Regions from separate parts of the Homo sapiens genome. Here region 2 is linked to region 1. Evidence: promoter capture Hi-C in 16 types of primary human blood cells and fetal thymus (Javierre and others, 2016). All regions are on one chromosome and are shown on one strand. The core of a region is centred on a gene start or on the middle of the fragment in contact, and the rest is flanking DNA. Distances in the headings are between cores, read along the strand shown. Region 1 holds the start of TOMM20L (translocase of outer mitochondrial membrane 20 like). Region 2 overlaps ARMH4 (armadillo like helical domain containing 4).

Region 1 (5,282 bases), core at 1,001-3,500:
GGACAATGACGAGGGACATGGAGCTGTATCAGGCTCTGTCTCAGTCAAGTCAGGGAAGGTATCTCCACTCCCATGTCCAGCTCTTTGGACACTCCCTACCCAGCTAACTATGTCAAATGGGCTTTTATTCTCTACTGTGATTCCATTTTGAAACCCCGGAAGTGTCTTTGACTCCGCCTCTCCATTACCCTTTACTCAGTCGGCATGAACTGTATTCTTCCCAGTTACCACTACCACCACCATAGTTCAGGATTTTTATTACCTCTCAACTAAATTGCTGCAATAGCTTGTTTTCTTTTCCAATCCATTAAGTACACTCCTGCTTGATCAATCTAAGAATATTTCTCTTCTGCCTTTCTTTCCTTCTTTTTAAAAAATTCCTGCTTAGAAATCTTCAGTAATTCCTCCATTGAATCTCAGTTCCTTAACCTGGCCTTCAAAGCAAGCCTTCCCTAATTCAATCCTACTTTCGCTCTCCAACCTTACCACCCACTATTCCTCAGTATGACTCCTTTGCCAAACTGGTTTACTGAATGTGCTTGGCAGATGCCCCACTTTGCATCTTTATGCACATGCTGTTCCCTCCATCCTGTATCCTCTCCCCTGAAACCAAGCCACAAATTCATCATCCTTCCAGGCTCAGTTCAATGCCACTTCCGCTACAAAGTCTTCTCCGGAAAAACTGCATGTTTCAAAAATGGCTACCGCAATATTCCCGGTCACACAAGTGCTTTCAAAACCTTGCCATCCCTGTTGAGAGGTAGAATCTATTTCCTCTCCCTTTAAATTGAGTAGGCTTCAATGTTGCCAGAAGTGGTACCATCTGCTCTTCCACATGGGCACATGTTCTAGTTCACATGCATGTGCGTGCTCTCTCTATACACAGACACACACACACACACATATATATACACACATACATATATGTGTTTGCTTGTCCCTTGGGACACAGCCCATCACACAAATGAAGAATCCCAGATCACACAGACGTGTAGGTGCTCTGGCTAACAATCTCAGCTAAGTAAACATCCAGCATCAACTGCGGATTGCTTGTGGCCAGGAGTTCTAGTTCAGCCTGGGCAACATAGGAACACCCTTGTCTCTTTCTTTTTTTATAGACAGTGTCTTGCTCTGTCGCCCAGGCTGCAACTGCCACCTCCCGGACTCAAGCAATTCTCCTGCCTCAGTCTCCCAAGTAGCTGAGACTACAGGCACACGCCACCACTCCCGGCTAATTTTTGTATTTTTAGTAGAGACAGGCTTTCACCATGTTGGCCAGGCTGGTCTCAAACTCCTGACCTCACGTGATCTGCCCGCCTTGCCTCCCAAAGTGCTGGGATTACAGGCGTGAGCCACCAAGCCCGGCCCGCCTCTTAAAAACAACAAAAAAGGGACTAATCAAATTTTGCCGCAGAGATTTACAAAACACGAAGATGCCTTCTGCTTCTGAGCTACAAGAAAGGCCCTGCGGGAGAACAATCTAGAAGTTACTGCCATGTGACCGTGGCCAGCCTGGGTTTTTAAGTGTCCTGTGCGGCTCTGACAGGGCAAAAGGCTCCTCTTCCTTCTTCCAGTTAAAAGAAGTGCCTGTTGTACAGTGTTTTGCTTTGCAGCTGCCTTTTTATAACTCCAACTTCTTCCTCCTTCCTTCCCTCCCTTTTGTGAGAGGAGAGTGACTGGGCCTGAGGCGGTGCGTGGCGCGCGAGGGCAGGCCTCTTCCCGGGCACGGGCGGCTGAGGGAACTAACTACCTGCTGCCGAGCCCGCCAGGAGCCAAGCAACCCAGCGAGCCCGGACCTGCGTCTACTGAGCTACCTGTGCGGATCGAAAGCACTGCACCTGCGTGCCCTGCTCCTCAGCCTTTTGAGGCTCTGCTCTTCTTTCTGCGAACACAACACGGCACATGCTGGCTGGGAGGCCCGTCCAGAGGCACGCGTGGGCCCAGTGGTCCTGCCTGCCCGGGCGCCGCGGGCCCCTCGGCAGAGGCTGAGGCACTCACGGCCCGGCCTCTCAGTGGGGGGCCCTCCCGGCCGGCAGCCCGCCCGCGCTGCCCGGCCCGGCCGCGCCTCCGCCTCGGTCCCACTCACTGTCCCGCAGGCGGCGCTTGAACGCGGGGTCCCCGCGCCGCTTCCGGTTGAGGTAAATACAATAGCCCAGGAAGGCGAAGGCGCCACAGGCCGCCGCGGCGGCCAAGAGGCGGAGGAGGGAGCGGACGGAGGGCATCCGACCGCGGGCGTCCCACAAGCCGAGCGTTGGGCGCGGGCCGGCCGGCAGGGGGCGTCGGCGCGGCGGCCCATCCGGCCTCGGGGCCTCCTGCGCACCCAGCTGCGCGTTGACGCCTCGCACCCAGGCTTGCGGACCGATGAGGAAGCCGAGCGTTCGAGAGGGTGTGTGCGGGAGCCCTCACAGCCACAGAGTAGCAGAGCTCTGTTCGAACCTACGTCTGTCGCACTCCAAATTCTGAACCCTTTCTCCAAACACGCCTCTGCCCCTGTGTCTACAACACCCATTCAGGCAAAGCACAGTATGCTGCGAATCTGCTTTACTGGGAGCCAGTGGTCGTTTAGGTCTCTGTTCCCTCACCTGCAAAATTAAGTTGACTCTAAGGTCAACTTTGGTCACCTCCTAGTTCACATTGTCTAACAGTAGCCCGTACTCCCCAATCTGGTATCCTTTGTCTCCTGAAAGGACCCAGCAGTCCAAGGTCCAAGGGAGGAATTCAGAAGCAACACTGTTTAATCTAGAAAAATACGTTAAATTGCTGGGCTGAGACTGACAGTCAAAGGTCCCAAAGCAAAAACAACTGAGAGTCCCATGATACTGGCCTAGCTGCTTTTCTAATATTTGCCTTACTCAGCGGACACAGCAGAAAGAAAGAAGGTAAGACTTTGTCCTAAATACCAGAGTTCTGACTTTTCTACTAAGGAGGAGAAAAGGCATAAGCTAGGGACCTAAAGAACTAGATAATTCATTTTTATTTAGGTTATACAATTGCTATTTACTGATTTACAATTTACTGTTATTACTAGTGTGTGCATAGCAAGGTGCTCATCACTGCTCTGAATACCAGTGGGTCTAGCTAGGTGCAGTGGCTCACAACTGAAATCCCAACACTTTGGGAGGCTGAGGTGGGAGGATCACTTGAGCTCAGGACTTGGAGACCAACCAGCCTGGGCAACATTGCAAGAACCCATCTCTAAAAAAACAAAACAAGGGCCGGGCACAATGGCTCATGCCTGTAATCCCAGCACTTTGGGAGGCCGAGGCAGGCAGATCACAAGGTCAAGAGTTCGAGACCAGCCTGGCCAACATGGTGAAACACTGTCTCTACTAAGAATACAAAAATTAGCTGGGTGTGGTGGCATGTGCCTGTAATCCGTTACTTGGGAGGCTGAGACAGGAGAACTGCTTGAATCCGGGAGGCGGAGGTTGCAGTGAGCTGAGATTGTGTCACTGTACTCCAGCATGGGCAACAGAGCAAGACTCCGTCTCGATAAAACAAAACAAAAAAATACTGGTCGTGGTGTGCACCTGTAGCCCTAGCTACTCTGCAGGGATCACTTGAGCCTAGGAGTTGGAGGCTGCAGTGAGCTCTGATCACTGCCACTGCACTCCTGCCTGGGTGACAGAATGAGACCCTGTCTCTATAAAAATACATAGGTGGCTGGGCGTGTTGGCTCACGCCTGTAATTCCAGCACTGGGAGACCGAGGTGGGTGGATCACCTGAGGTCAGGAGTTTGAGACCAGCCTGGCCAACATGGTGAAACCTCATCTCTACTTAAAATACAAAAATTAGCTGGGCATGGTGGCACAAGCCTGTAATCCCAGCTACTTGGGAGGCTGAGTCACGAGAATTGCTTCAACCCAGGAGGCGGGGAGGTTGCAGTGAACTGAGATCAATCACACCACTGCACTCCAGCCTGGGCAACAGAGTGCGACTCTGTCTCAAAAAAAAAAAAAAAAAAATATATATATATATATATATATATATATATATAGAGATAGATAGGTAAATTATAAATTAGTAGATAGATTAAAAAACCAATGGGTCTGAGTAGTAGCCTCAGCCCTCAAAATTTAAGAGTTAGCAGGGGTAAGTTACATATCATGCTTTCTTGAGTACTGTATGTTTTTTCTCATGATAATTGTCTTCTAGAAGGGAACTTGGTTATTGTGAAAACCTGATTGTAAACACAGAGGAGAGGATAGTGTCAGCATCTTGTAAGTATTACTGGTGATCAGGGACTGGTTCAGAATCTTGGCAAGGGTTTAGCCCAGCTTCAATTGATCTTTCTTTAGGTTGACGGCAACTTGTCTTCTAAGACCACCAATCTTGTGGCTTTCTTCCCATCTTTCACCTTCCCTTTCACATAGTTAATGCCTGTGGTAAATGGAGAGGGATGGAGCGAGAGAAACTGTTGAGATTAGCTGGGTATTCAGGAGCAAAGTAAACAGTGACACATAAAAGTAGGAGAATTATTACAGCAATTAGGAATAAACAGATTTCTAAAGTTGAAATTGCCAGAGAGAGAGGCCATGAGGAAACATAATTGAAAAATTAGGCAAGTTTCTATGGGACAGGTAGATATTTTCTTCTCAGATATAGGCACCACTCTTGCTAATTTGGTGATCAGAATTCCTATAAAGCTTTGATAATTTTCATATTGAGATAGCACTAATAGTTGTCTTCAAAACATGGTTCTATGCTGGATGATAGCTCTCTTTCTTTTATTTATTTATTATTATTTTTTGAGATGGAGTTTCACTTGTTGCCCAGGCTAGAGTGCAATGGCACGATTTCCAATTCTCCTGCCTCAGCCTCCTGAGTAGCTGGGATTACAGGCGTGCACCACTACGCCCAGCTAATTTTGTATTTTTAATAGAGATGGGGTTTCACCATGTTGGCCAGGCTAGTCTTGAACTCCTGACCTTGGGTGATCTGCCCGCCTCAGCCTCCCAAAGTGCTGGGATTACAGGCATGAACCACCATGCCCGGCCACTCTCTTTCTTTTAAATCACTTTATCGAGGTAAAATTGATATACAATAAATTGCAGATATTTAAGGTGTACAGTTTTATAAATTTTGACATATGTATGCATCCAGGAAACTGTCATCAAAATCAAGATAGTAACCATATATCTATCTACCATTAAAGGTACTTCTTTAATACCTTCTCCATCCTTCCTTTCCCTTGCCACAAACATGCCCTACTTTCTGTGACGGTAGACTAGTTTACATTTTCTAGAGTATTATATAAATGGAATCATATAGTATGTACTCT
Region 2 (5,282 bases), core at 1,034-3,533, 300 kb after region 1:
TCCCCGATATGACTACCTCTCTCCTCTTTCCAGATTGTACCCTAGTCCAAAGCACCATAATCTATTCCTGGTTTTTAAGTGGACTCCTTGTCAGCCTTCTTTTTTCATCTCTTGCTTTGATATAGCCTGTTCTCCACCCTGCTGCTAGAGTCATTCTTTAAAAATATAAGTCAGTACTACCTGTTCCCCAAAAACCTATTGAAATAAATAAAAGACTTAAAAAAAAAAAAAGTCAGATCTGGCCCCTGCCTACTTCTTCCTACCTCATTTCCTGTATTTGCCCTGTGCCTCCCAGCCCAGGCTTCTTTGCCATTGTTTGAACACAGCGAGGCCACACCTGCCTCAAGGATTAGGTCCTTGCCATTTCCTCCACTGGGAATGCTCTTCCTGTAGATGTTGACTTAAATTAAACAAAAGAATGCATTATTTTGGTGTGGCCTCTGTTCAAACTTTACCTTGTCAGAAAAGCTTTCTTTAATCACCCTTTCTAAAATAGCAGTGCCTGGCGTTTTCTATCTTCTTGCCAGTTTTAATGAGAGTGTAGAGTCACCTGCCTATTGGTGTATCTGTTTGTTTGCTGTGAGTCTCCCTGGGTGGCACATGGGCTCCACGAAGGCAGAGACGTTATTGCTTTTATCCCTAGTGTCTGCAACGGCACCCGTTAGGGGGTTGATACATATTTGTTGAATTTTTAGAATAGTGACAGACATTAATCCTACAAAGTTAAAGGACATATAAGAATAAAAAAAGATTAAAGGTGATTTTTTTTAAAAGTTAAAAAGCCTCTGAATGATAGAGGAAAGGTAGTATGGGTGGAGAAAGTTGTGTAGAAGCAGAAAAGGAGAGTCTCACAATTCTTGGGTGGCTCCAGTTCTTCTTCTTCCCTTCTTTTCTCCACCATAGGAGGAGAATTACCTGTTGCAGTAACTGCTGTGCCGAGAGTCAAGGGGAGAGAGCAAAGGGAAGGCCTTCTGTGAACTTTGTGGGCACTTACCAGGGGCTTCAGAGGTGCATCCATGGTGAGGATGGGGCCTTGAAGTATTACTAGGAAATTAACATTGGTGAAACAAAATGAAATTGGGAATCATATGTTCCTTAAACCCACTCCACTTGGAGCATTGAAAATGACAGCTTGTGGTGAAGTGCCATGGCTCACGCCTATAATACTAGCATTGTGGGAGGCCGAGGGAGGAGGATGGCTTGAGTCCAGGAGTCTGAGACTGTGGTGAACCATGATCACGCCACTGCACTCCAGCCTGGGTGACAGAGCAAGACTCCGTCTCAAAAATAAATAAATAAATAAATAAAAAATAAAAAAAAAAAAATCAAGAAAACGACGAATTGTGAATGTTAACTCTTACAATGAAGATAATGGTAATTTTTAATGTGCTGCCTTTCTGACCACTCCTGGTGAATATCCCACTTCCCAATTCCTTTAGAGTTGGATTGAGAATGTTGATGCAATTATTTCCAGTTTCTTGGATTACTCTTCCTTAGAGAGAACAAGATCCAAGAGTGAATTTATGTGCTCCTCACTTACCATTTTTGTGAGTTCTACTCACTGATGTGGATGAATAGAAAAAGCTGTGCCAAAATAATGAATTGTCTCCTTTAACATTATGAGCTATAAAGGGATGGGAACAGCTTCTTTTAAGTTCTGTTAGTATTTCACAGTGTGCTAACTGATAAACTTTTAATGATCTCCAGAAAACAGCAAGGGGATGTTTACTACCCTTGTAAATATAAATAACTTTAATAACAAATCATATTACTTGAACTTTGACTCCCAGTAAACATAATACCTGATACTTATCTGACATAACTATGGTTTTGAAAGTTTAAACTCTAGGACATATGGTGGGTGTATAATCCTGCAAAGTTCACATTGTCTGACTTTGGCTATAAAGATGTGTTTCAAAAGGCCAAACAATTATTTTGTAGTGTTTGGATCATTTCCAAGGATTCATTTGTTTCAGCATAAACTCATTATATGTTTATGCTTCCCTTTGATTTCTTTTTGCCTAGAGGGACAAGAAGATGAGGATGAAGAGGATGAAGAAGATGAAGATGAAGAAGAGGAAGATGAGGAAGAAGATGAGGAAGATAAAGATGCAGACTCGCTGGATGAGGGCTTGGATGGTGACACTGAGCTGCCAGGTTTTACCCTCCCTGGTATCACATCCCAGGAACCAGGCTTAGAGGAGGGAAACATGGACCTGTTGGAGGGAGCTACCTACCAGGTGCCAGATGCCCTCGAGTGGGAACAGCAGAATCAAGGCCTGGGTAAGAGTCATGTGTATTTCCCTTTTCCTCCCTTCTCCCCTCCTTTTATATTTCTCAGATGACAGCCTTCTTTCATTGCCATCTATTGTAAAGAAAAATGGATTTTCTTTGTTTATGGGTGGTTTCTACATTTATGGGTGGTTAAGAATATAAGTATAAACTCACCGAAGAAATAACTGATAATTAAAAATTAAAAATGATCACTTATTTCTTCGATGAGTTTATATTTATGCCCTTAAGTAGCCAGGCTCCAAACAGTCTCCAGCTGCCTATTATGAGTACAGTTGCCTGATGTTTGGAAGAAATTCAGTTTTTCCTTCCCAGTTGGGAGACAGTTGTAGGCTTTAGGAGGACATCCGCACAGGGAGGAGATACGTGTAACCAGGATGTTGGACAAGCAGCACCATGGGACAGAGTCGAAGAACAAATGCATTTTTTGTTCCGCTCTGTCCTTTGGGAATCTATTACCTAGGGGAAGTTCTTCCCCTGCTTGTGGGTGAGCAGTTGGGCAGTCCCATGATTTTTCTGTTCAGACTTGTGGCTGCATTACCTTGTCAAACACGATTTCATTTCAGCAGCTAGGGTGGCCAGACCACTCCATGCTCACTCTCTCTTATTCATGGCCCGTGCTTGTGGTGAGAGACTTGGAGGATGCAGGCCGCTCCTCAGCTCAGCACTTCCTTCCACATCGACAGGGAAGCTCCCCAGTCTGTCCCTCTCCTCTTGTCAGGGGAGACGCTATTAAGCTCTCAGTGACTCCTTGAGGCCCTATTCCCTTGACCTGAGGTGAATTAATCTCTTCTCCAAGGAAACTCTTCTCTAAAATGCTCCTAGTCTTTAACAGCTAGGCCCATTGATTCCTTCAGTGTGGCAGATGTTAGGGTTAAGAGTCAGAAAAACTGGTACAAATACTAGTTTTGGGGATATGTCATTGAAAACTTGTAAGTTGGTCTGGGCCTTTGCTCTGGATGTAATTCTGGGAGTTGCACTCTATAGATTGGCATACAGGTTGTAGTTGACATGTAGCTGGGATTTCCTGTGTAATATGCTATAGGAAGGAGAGAAGATAGTAAGGGATGGGCTTCCAGTGGACAGACAAGATTTCTTGAATTACTTTCTGGCCAAATTCAGCATGCATTGGGCAATGATTACTTTAAAAACATGTCACATGAAACTGGTAAAAACTTATAAGGGTATCAAAACATTATAATATCAAAATACTATAAAACAAACACAAAATAAGATTATCTCTGGTCTGTGAACAAGTGAATGAATATTTAGTCTGAAATGCTTCTGTTCTACATGAACAGGTTTGAAATGAATGAAATAAGATACAAAATACAAAGATAATTTATACCGAACAGGTTAAAAACAGACACAAATCTACACGTAAAGTGACTCCTCGGGTTGTGCACAGCTTTATACTATGGAGGTATCATGTACAGTTAAACAGCCTTTCAGTATGGATGGGATGATATTCGGATGCTCTAGTACTTTACCGGAGAGAGGAGCGAGGGAGACAGGGTTGCCTTAGCACAGAATTAGGAACATCATATGGCATCTACCCTGGATTGTGATCAAAGAAATGAAGTCTCACCACTTATGAAGTGGACTTACCATCTTTGAGTAATTATAAGTAATTAGAGGGTCTTAGAAAACTATAAGGAGGCTCTGAATCAAGGCTAAAATGATCATTTGGGCTGTGGTATTATCATGCTCCTCAATGCAAATTTACCACTGAATAGGAGTCAAGTTTTTAAGGAATCAGCTTTACTGAGGTATGTATTATACACAATTGCACCCACTGAAAGCTTATGATTTGATGAGTTTTGAGAGTTGTATACACCCATGCAACCCCCATCACAATCATGCCGCAGAGCATTTCCATCATCCCACCACCAGTGATTCCTCATGCCCCTTTGCAGTGCATCCCTCCTCCAGTCCTCAACCCCAGATAACCACTGGCCTTTGGTCACTATAGATTAGTTTGCATTTTCTAGAATTTTGTACAAATGACATCATATGGTATATACCATTTTGTGTCTGGCTTAGATCACTTAGCATAAAGATTTTGAGATTCAACTATGTTGTATGTATCAGTAGTTTGTTCTTTGTTATATATAACATACACACATGTACACACATGCACACACTCACATACACATCCACACACATATATATAGCTGACTAGTATTCAATTGTATGGATATACCATGTTTTGCTCATCTAGTCACCTGTTGATGAACAACTGAGTTGTTCCCTGTTTTGGCTAATAGCAGTTAAATTTTAAGGCTTGTCAGGCTTGAGGCTTAGGACAAAAAGCTCTGTTGTCCTCCTGTTCTGACTCCTGATTTCAGTCCCCTTGCACAGCTAAAGTTCTTTTTTTTTTTTTTTGAGAAAGCGTCTCACTCTGTTGCTCAGGCTGGAGTGTAGTGGGGCGATCTCGACTCACTGCAAATTCTGCCTCCCGGGTTCAAACAATTCTCCTGCCTCAGCCTCCTGAGCAGCTGGGACTACAGGTACCCACTCCCATGCCCAGCTAATTTTTGTATTTTTAGTAGAGACAGGGTTTCACCATATTGGCTAGGCTGGTCTCAAACTCCTGACCTTAGGTGATCTGCCCGCCGTGGCCTCCCAAAGTGCTGGGGTTACAGGCATGACCCACCGTGCCCAGCCACAGCTTAAGTTTCTTAAATTAGTGATACCAGTTTAGTAATTTTTTATTCTTTTAAAAATGACTTCTCCAGATCCTGAGTTTTAAAAATATATCAGACTTTTTCTTATTATTTACTATTTCTCTAGGTGTCTCTTACTTTCTGCTGTTGCTTCTTTTTCTAATAAATTCATTTTGTCAACATGTTTTCAGCATTGTGGGTTTCCTGGGAACCAAAGCAAGGAACAAATATTTCAAACTGTTCTTCTCACTGAGAAGATTGTGTTTGAGGAGTATCTGGGTCTAGAATTTTATTAGCCCACCAACCTTTTCTCGGAAGGACAGG

The links. The method cuts DNA at HindIII sites, captures the fragments that hold promoters and counts their contacts. A CHiCAGO score of 5 or more calls a contact.
Region 2: a contact is called between a fragment that was not itself captured here and the fragment with the promoter of TOMM20L in region 1, in 2 of 17 cell types (total CD8 T cells and naive CD8 T cells). The highest score is 5.6, in total CD8 T cells.

Annotation. Positions count from the first base shown.
Region 1 is chr14:58,392,898-58,398,179 of GRCh38, reverse strand. It overlaps TOMM20L (translocase of outer mitochondrial membrane 20 like), which reads right to left and starts at 2,250. Exons shown (of 5, transcript NM_207377.3): 1 at 2,087-2,250; 2 at 1,839-1,882. The coding sequence starts at 2,222. It overlaps TOMM20L-DT (TOMM20L divergent transcript), which reads left to right and starts at 2,475. Exons shown (of 2, transcript NR_187161.1): 1 at 2,475-2,879. RefSeq lists silencers at 1,803-1,852, 1,923-2,442. The HindIII fragment of the contact is 7,740 bases long and covers 1-4,649 here.
Region 2 is chr14:58,093,725-58,099,006 of GRCh38, reverse strand. ARMH4 (armadillo like helical domain containing 4) reads left to right here. Exons shown (of 8, transcript NM_001001872.4): 5 at 2,026-2,283. Among named protein-coding and RNA genes, the nearest start is that of ARMH4, 56 kb to the left of the region's middle. The HindIII fragment of the contact is 3,626 bases long and covers 471-4,096 here.